Regions from separate parts of the Homo sapiens genome. Here regions 2 and 3 are each linked to region 1. Evidence: promoter capture Hi-C in 16 types of primary human blood cells and fetal thymus (Javierre and others, 2016). All regions are on one chromosome and are shown on one strand. The core of a region is centred on a gene start or on the middle of the fragment in contact, and the rest is flanking DNA. Distances in the headings are between cores, read along the strand shown.

The links. Contacts are between HindIII fragments. The CHiCAGO score rates a contact against its expected background, and 5 or more counts as called.
Region 2: a fragment that was not itself captured here is called in contact with the fragment with the promoter of KRT6B in region 1 in 1 of 17 cell types (M0 macrophages); the score reaches 5.1 in M0 macrophages.
Region 3: a contact is called between the fragment with the promoter of KRT3 here and the fragment with the promoter of KRT6B in region 1, in 2 of 17 cell types (endothelial precursors and total CD8 T cells). The highest score is 6.4, in endothelial precursors.

Annotation. Positions count from the first base shown.
Region 1 is chr12:52,450,823-52,453,537 of GRCh38, reverse strand. KRT6B (keratin 6B) reads left to right here and starts at 1,392. Exons shown (of 9, transcript NM_005555.4): 1 at 1,392-1,999. The coding sequence starts at 1,460. The HindIII fragment of the contact is 8,192 bases long and covers 409-2,715 here.
Region 2 is chr12:52,890,380-52,893,094 of GRCh38, reverse strand. No RefSeq gene overlaps it. Among named protein-coding and RNA genes, the nearest start is that of MIR9898, 7.2 kb to the left of the region's middle. The HindIII fragment of the contact is 2,470 bases long and covers 97-2,566 here.
Region 3 is chr12:52,794,783-52,797,497 of GRCh38, reverse strand. KRT3 (keratin 3) reads left to right here and starts at 1,381. Exons shown (of 9, transcript NM_057088.3): 1 at 1,381-2,100. The coding sequence starts at 1,456. The HindIII fragment of the contact is 1,337 bases long and covers 775-2,111 here.

The DNA of each region.
Region 1 (2,715 bases), core at 143-2,642:
TTATTTATATACCTTTCTACAATGCAGGCTCCCTCTCTATATATGCCAACTCCCTCCACCTCTTCCTCACCCATACAAACACACGTTGACACAAACACATATGCACAGACATGTCACCCATGGCCCAGGAAAAGCACAGGAAAATATCCAAGTAAAGATACAAGGATACACAAGGAACTGCTAACATTACTTCCTCCATAGATAGGAATTGGGTAACTGGGGAATGGCCTTGAGCTATATTATTTTGTTGTTTAGCATGTTTTACAAAAAATTTTTTAAAACATGTATCATGTATTCAATTTGTAAACATGTAAATAATTGTGCAAATAGTACTATTCAAAATTTAAATGGGCAATCTACTACATTTACTTCTAGAATGTTTAAATATAGACAGAATCTTAATAAGCTTCTAATTTTAATATGAAATATGAAGGTTAGAGTCTCATATTAAAGGAAACAATAGGGGTATGCAATTAGAAAAATCCCAAGAATGAAAAAGTACAATGAACAGTTAACCTGTTTTATTTAACAAATAAAAGTAAGAAATGAAGGGAGATTTTTAAATTTCAATGATTTAAAGGATATATCACTCAAATACAACGTTTATAGAGCTTATTTTGACTCTGATTGGGACACCAAAATATAAGAAATATATATCAAAAATAGGACTGCTTGAAGACTAAATAGACACTTGTTCATTTTAATTAGTATGTAAATTTTTAAGATATAAAAATAGTGTTTTGATTTTTTAAAGGACCTATTATTTAGATATTAATATTGAATTATTGATTGAAGACATAATATGACTTCTGGAATTTCCTTTCAAACAATCTAGAATGGAAGAGGAAATAGGGTTGAAGTATGAAAGAAATCAGGCTGGCCATGAGATGATCATCATGGAAGCAGGTGACAGGTATATACAGGCCCATTGCAGTGTTCTGCTTCTCTACCTGTTTAAAATTGCACCTAAAAGGTGAAACAATTATGGGGAAATTGTAATATTTCTGTTAAGGAATTCACAATACAGTGCCTGTGATCTCCAACAGCAAGGCTGGAAGAAAGTCAGACTGGGAAGAGGAGGGCACTCAGGGCATGTCGATAAACAGCCTAGCATGCAGAACCTTTGCTGAAGACAGTGACTAATTCCAACTTCATGAATTGAGAATACTCTTATTGTGCTGAGATCTCAAGTCAAAGCTGGAGGCAGGAACATTTTGCCTGACTAAAGGAAGCGAAAAATGCAATCTCGGTATTTCATAACTTTTGTAATAATGCAGGTGTGATCTCACTATTTGTAAAGCCCAGCCCTTCCCAACCTGCAAGCTCACCTTCCAGGACTGGGCCCAGCCCATGCTCTCCATATATAAGCTGCTACTGGAGTCCGATTCCTCGTCCTGCTTCTCCTCCCTCTCGCCTCCAGCCTCTCACACTCTCCTAAGCCCTCTCATCTCCTGGAACCATGGCCAGCACATCCACCACCATCAGGAGCCACAGCAGCAGCCGCCGGGGTTTCAGTGCCAACTCAGCCAGGCTCCCTGGGGTCAGCCGCTCTGGCTTCAGCAGCATCTCCGTGTCCCGCTCCAGGGGCAGTGGTGGCCTGGGTGGCGCATGTGGAGGAGCTGGCTTTGGCAGCCGCAGTCTGTATGGCCTGGGGGGCTCCAAGAGGATCTCCATTGGAGGGGGCAGCTGTGCCATCAGTGGCGGCTATGGCAGCAGAGCCGGAGGCAGCTATGGCTTTGGTGGCGCCGGGAGTGGATTTGGTTTCGGTGGTGGAGCCGGCATTGGCTTTGGTCTGGGTGGTGGAGCCGGCCTTGCTGGTGGCTTTGGGGGCCCTGGCTTCCCTGTGTGCCCCCCTGGAGGCATCCAAGAGGTCACTGTCAACCAGAGTCTCCTGACTCCCCTCAACCTGCAAATTGACCCCGCCATCCAGCGGGTGCGGGCCGAGGAGCGTGAGCAGATCAAGACCCTCAACAACAAGTTTGCCTCCTTCATCGACAAGGTGAGCCAGTGCCATGCCCTCCATCGGGCACTTCAGGGTCCCCAGACCAGAAGAGCAACACCTTCCTGCCGGAGAGACCCTAGGAGGGAGGGAGAAGGGGACTCAGCCCAGCTCTGCAGAGAGTGCAGGTGGCTCTCGGTGCACAGGAGGCAGCACAGATGGGCATCACTCCCCCATGGGATATCTGGAGTGGCCCTCACTCCTGCCTAGGGAGAGCCATAACTTTTCATAACCCTGAAGCACAGATGAGGCCATCAGAGAGTGGAGTAGGTTAATTCTCCCCTCTGAAGTGTTTAAGAGATTACAAAGCAAATGCCAGGAGTATATGGGCTGGTAAATTACACTCTGGGGTCTGGGTAAGAGGAAAAAGATTTAGAAAGAAAAGGAAAAGATAATCTGGCTGGATTAAGAAAAAAAGGGACATAGAAACAACTGTAAAACATGGATAAATGCTAATTAATTTTAAAAACAGAGAATGACCATAACATCAGAATATTTGAGAGGAGACACTAAATGGGAAAGTAGACTGAAATGTAATCATGAGTCAACATCTAATATCCCTCCTAACTAAGATCCTCTCGGTAAAAAAAACTGTGTACAATATATCAGGTAATTAGTATTTTTAAACTAGATTTGTGATTGTGCTTGGAAAAAGAAAAGAAGAAATGTTGAAACTCACTGATGATCAATAGCTTACAGTGCGAGAACACCTCAGT
Region 2 (2,715 bases), core at 82-2,581, 440 kb before region 1:
CAATGGTGAGGATATCTTAATAATTCCTACAAGTGGAATTGCTGAAGCAAAATGTGTGCACATTTAAATTTTAGTAGACTTTTTGTTTTTAAAGCTTGATTTCCTATGGGACTGAATTTTAGTTTTTTAGAAAATTTACATGTGTAGAAGAAGGTTCCTGTTTGACTATTCCAGATGAGCCAGCCATTATCCCCCACTTCCCTCCACCCTGCCTTTCCCGACCCAACCACCCAGGATTAAAATGATGAGTCTTCCAAGCATTTGTGGACTCTTCTGAAGATATTTTAATTCCAAGGTTTTGCTCTGCCTGCCCGCTGATCTGGGCTAAGGTGGTCTAGGAGCTCCCCTGTAGTAGGGGGATCTGAAGGTGGGCTAAGGACCGAGGGCCAGGCTGACTGGAGTGTAAGGTGGTGGGAATGGAGGAGTGAATGTTAAAGCAAGGCATGTGACAATGCGGACAGTACATACCCTTCATGAAGGATAGATAGAAATGTGTGCATGCATGTCCCTACGTAATTATATATCATAGATTCTACCTGTTGGGAAAGGAAGAGGAAGCACCACTGCAAGGAAAGGAAGGCAGGGAAGGATACCAGCATGGTGGGTGGCCCCCTAGTTCACTCTCCGCGCTGCCCTTTTACACATTGTGGTGGGCATAGTTGCTTTGTCTAGCCAGGACCCCTTCCCCCTTCTTCTAGTAATGCAAAGCTCCCCCACCTCCACTCCTGCCACGCCCCACTTCTTTTCAGGAACTGTTCCTCCTAAGATCACAGGACCTCTGTCCAGGCACACAGGGTTCACAATGGGCCAGCCTTGGCCAATCACAAGTCCCTTTGTTTCCTCCTTGCTGAGGCATATTGTACATACAATAAAATGCAAAATGTGCTTTAATGGGGAATGTACAACCTGATGAGTTTTTTTATTTTTATTTTTATTTATTTTTTTTGAGATGGAGTTTCACTCTTGTTGCCCAGGCTGAAGTGCAATGGCACGATCTCGGCTCACTGCAACCTCCGCTGCCCAGGTTCAAGCGATTCTCCCGCCTCAGCCTCCTGAGTAGCTGGGACTACAGGCATGCGCCACCACGCCGGGCTAATTTTGTATTTTTAGTAGAGACGGGGTTTCTCCGTGTTGGTCAGGCAACTCCCGACCTCAGGTGATCCACCCGCCTCAGCCTCCCAAAGTGCTGGGATTACAGGCGTGAGCCACCGTGCCCGGCGCCTGATGAGTTTTAACTTATGTTCACACCTGTAATGTAGAACATTTCCTATATCACAGAAGGTTCACTTGGGCCCCTTGCCAGAGTGCACTTTTTTTTAGTAGACTTATTTTTTAAGAACAGTTTTAGCTAGGCGCTGTGGCTCATGCCTGTAATCCCAGCACTTTGGGAGGCTGAGGCGGGTGGATCACGAGGTCAGGAGATCGAGACCATCCTGGCTAACATGGTGAAACCCCGTCTCTACTAAAAAATACAAAAAAATTATCTGGGTGTGGTGGCAGGCGCCTGTAGTCCCAGCTACTCGAGAGGCTGAGGCAGGAGAATGGTGTGAACCCAGGAGGCAGAGCTTGCAGTGAACTGAGATCATGCCACTGCACTCCAGCCTGGGCGACAGAGAAAGACTCCGTCTCAAAAAAAAAAAAAAAAAAAAAAAAGAAAAAAAGAGCAATTTTAGGTTCATAGCAAAATCGAGCAGGAGGTAGAGGGTTCTCATACACATTCTGCCCCTACACCTGCATCCCACACCAGAGGGCTACATTTGTTACAACATCATCAACATCCCACCTCAGAGGGATACATTTGTTACGATTGATGAACCTACATTGACACATCATTATTACCCACAGTCCATAGTTCACATTAGAGTTAACTCTTAGTGTGGACATTCTGTGGGGGCCATGTAGCCACCATTACAGTACCATACAGAATAGTTCACTGCCCCCAAAATCAGAGTGCATTCTCAAAAATATGAATCAGATTCAGTTACTTCCTTATATGGAAAACCCTTTATTTTTATTTTATTTTTTTCTTTTCTTTCTTTATTTTTTATTATACTTTAAGTTCTAGGGTACATGTGCACAACATGCAGGTTTGTTACATATGTATACATGTGCCATGTTGGTGTGCTGCACCCGTTAACTCGTTAACTCTTCATTTACATTAGGTATATCTCCTAATGCTATCCCTCCCCTCTACCCCCACCCCACGACAGGCCCTGGTGTGTGATGTTCCCCACCCTGTGTCTAAGTGTTCTCATTGTTCAATTCCCACCTATGAGTGAGAACATGCGGTGTTTGGTTTTCTGCCCTTGCAATAGTTTGCTCAGAATGATGGGAAAACCCTTTACTTTTGACACCCAGAATAAAGCCCTAAATCTTGACTTGGCCCACAGGCTGTGCCTACTCTTCCTCCTCTGAGGCCTCATCCTGGCCACTCTGTCCCTTGCTCTCTGATGCAGTGGTGCAGGCTTTTCAGGGCATAGCCTACATGGAATTTGCTTCTGCTCAGGGCATTGCATGGCTGGCCCCCTGCTTGGAACACCCTGCCTTTCCTAGTCACTCCCAAGCTTTCCGCTCAAACGCAGCTTCCCCAAGAAAGTCTTCTGACACCACAAGACAAGACAAAAAGTTTTATGACACCACAAGACAAGAAAGTCTTCTAGACACCACAAACTGAGTGGCGTGTTTCTATGATAAGTTCCCAAGGCACCCTGTATT
Region 3 (2,715 bases), core at 132-2,631, 340 kb before region 1:
CAGGCCACTGAAGAAAATTGTACTTCCTTTGCACTTGGGCCACTCCCAGCCCTACCCAGTGGGTGTTGAAGAAGTCTCTATCCTTTCCCCCAATTCTAAGGAGGCTCCTGCCAGGGCCATACAGACCACACCCTTAGAAGGGCCCAATGTGCAGCAGACAGAACAAAAAAGGCCTGTCCTGGAGAGATAAGCAGCTAACTTGGCCAGCTCCAGAGTGTGCAGGATGGCTTTCTTTTGGACAAACCAAGCCCAGTCATAAGCCTCTGAACAACCCCAGACAGGGAGAGTTTCAGGCTTTCGGAGTCAGACATATTCCATAGTGCTGCCGGCTCTGCCAGATCTGGCTTTCTGGGGTTTGTGAGGGGGCATGGGCGACTCTCAGGAGCACATCTCTCAAACAGAAAATGGTCCCACAGGGGCCCTGTGTGTCTTGTCCATGACTGGGTCTCCAGAGTTTTGCAAAGGGCCTGGCACACATTTGGCAGTCTGTAAATATTTGCTGAATTTGTTGTTGACTTGACATTTGAATTTCTTGTTCCCTAGGCCTTAAGCTAAAACCAGAGAAAGGCCAAAATGTGGGGAGCAAGAAAGGAAGCCATAGATAAACCCCAAGATGTGTAATAGTGTATAATTTCTCTGGGAAGTTTTAAAGAGAAACAAACATTAGGCATGTTGGATTTTGCCAGTGTCTGCTCAACATACATAGGTGTTAACTTGACTTTTTCTCCAAAGATAGTCATAAACCAAAAGGTCACTACCTCCTGAACTAAAGCTTGGGGTACAGGGAGAACCCAGGAGGCAGATTTGTGATAGTTCTGGGCTTTTTTCCAAGAAGGGAGAAGGAGAGGTCAGCGCTTCATCCCAAAGGCCAGCGTAGAGCTGGGCACATACTGTGCACTCAGTCATTGTGGAGAGACCTGCATCACTCCTTCCATTAAGATACTTTCCCAGAGCTGTGAGTGGGCTCCACTGTCTCCACTACTCAGAGAAGCAGAACCTCCCCACACCTCCTCCACTCTATCCTCTCCAGAGCTGGGCACCGCTCTGCAGGGCCCAGGTGCAGCTAATAGGCAGAGGGATGGCTGCTGAGCACCTGATGCAGGTGAGCGTGCCTCCTGGGTCCTGTCAGACAGAGCTAGGAGGAGGCCATGCCCAAACATGGGGCAACACCAGGCACCACCCCCTCACCAGGTAAGCCTGCCACCTTAGCACTTTTACCATTTCAGCTTATTTTCAAGGTGTGTTTGGTAGCCTGGAACAAACTTATTGCCTTGGAGGCAAACCCAGCCCATGAATATTTGGGATTAATTATCTCTCCTTCGTTTGAGCCCAACAACCTCCTCAAATGTATATAAAGGGATTTATTTTGCACAGGTCTTCATTTCCCATCCCTCTTCCTCTGACTCTCAGTGTCCCTGCTTAACTTACACTCTTCTCTTCGCCAAGCTCCTTACCATGAGCAGACAAGCCAGCAAGACATCTGGTGGCGGGAGCCAGGGTTTCTCCGGCCGCTCTGCTGTGGTCTCCGGCAGCAGCAGGATGAGCTGTGTGGCCCACTCTGGGGGAGCTGGCGGAGGGGCCTATGGCTTCCGGAGCGGAGCAGGTGGCTTTGGCAGTCGCAGCCTCTACAACCTGGGCGGCAACAAGAGCATCTCCATCAGCGTGGCAGCTGGCGGCTCCCGGGCTGGAGGCTTTGGGGGAGGGCGGAGCAGCTGTGCCTTTGCAGGTGGCTATGGAGGTGGCTTTGGGAGCGGCTATGGAGGTGGCTTTGGTGGTGGCTTTGGTGGTGGCAGAGGAATGGGAGGTGGCTTTGGTGGAGCTGGTGGCTTTGGAGGGGCTGGTGGCTTTGGAGGGGCTGGTGGCTTTGGTGGTCCTGGTGGCTTTGGTGGGTCTGGTGGCTTTGGTGGGCCTGGCAGCTTGGGCAGTCCTGGTGGCTTTGGCCCTGGGGGCTTTCCTGGGGGAATTCAGGAAGTGACTATCAACCAGAGTCTCCTGCAGCCCCTCAATGTGGAGATCGACCCCCAGATTGGGCAAGTAAAGGCCCAGGAGCGGGAACAGATCAAGACCCTCAACAACAAGTTTGCCTCCTTCATTGACAAGGTAATGAAGCTTTGACTGGTCATCCCTTCCTGGGCTGGGGACTTTGAATTTGACCTTTGGGACACAGTGTTTAAATGTTTCTTGGATAGGCCAGACTGGAGGGTGAGGAGTTAGGTGGAACTCTAGGGTCTGGGAAGATATCCAGGGTTGAGGAGTTTGTCTACATGGTCAAGTGAGGGGAGGTGTAGAAAGAAAACAGTCCCCTATTTGGACCTGAGCACCACACATCCTGTTTGTGGGAACCCCTGCTGAAGTTTCCAGTCATTGCCTCATTGAGGCCCAGGCTGGCAGGGCAGGCAGCCCAAGGCAAGGGCCACAGCCACCATCAGCGAAGGGTCCACCAAGAATGGGAGGCTTTTCAAATACAAGCTGCCCTCTGAGGCTTTCCAGGAAGCCCTTTCCCCCTCATATTGCTGTGCCAGGCAGAGGAGGCTGATTACCTGGAGCAGGGATTAAGAGCATAAGAACCTTAGTTAGTCCCAAGGGAGCGCAGAGAAATGAGTGACTTTGCACTCCTACTCAGCCTAGTCAGGAAGACAAGAGTGCTCGGTGAGCTTCTCCAGACCAGGACAGTTCTCATGGGGCTGCCTCCCCTCCAGGCCCAAGAGAGGTGTT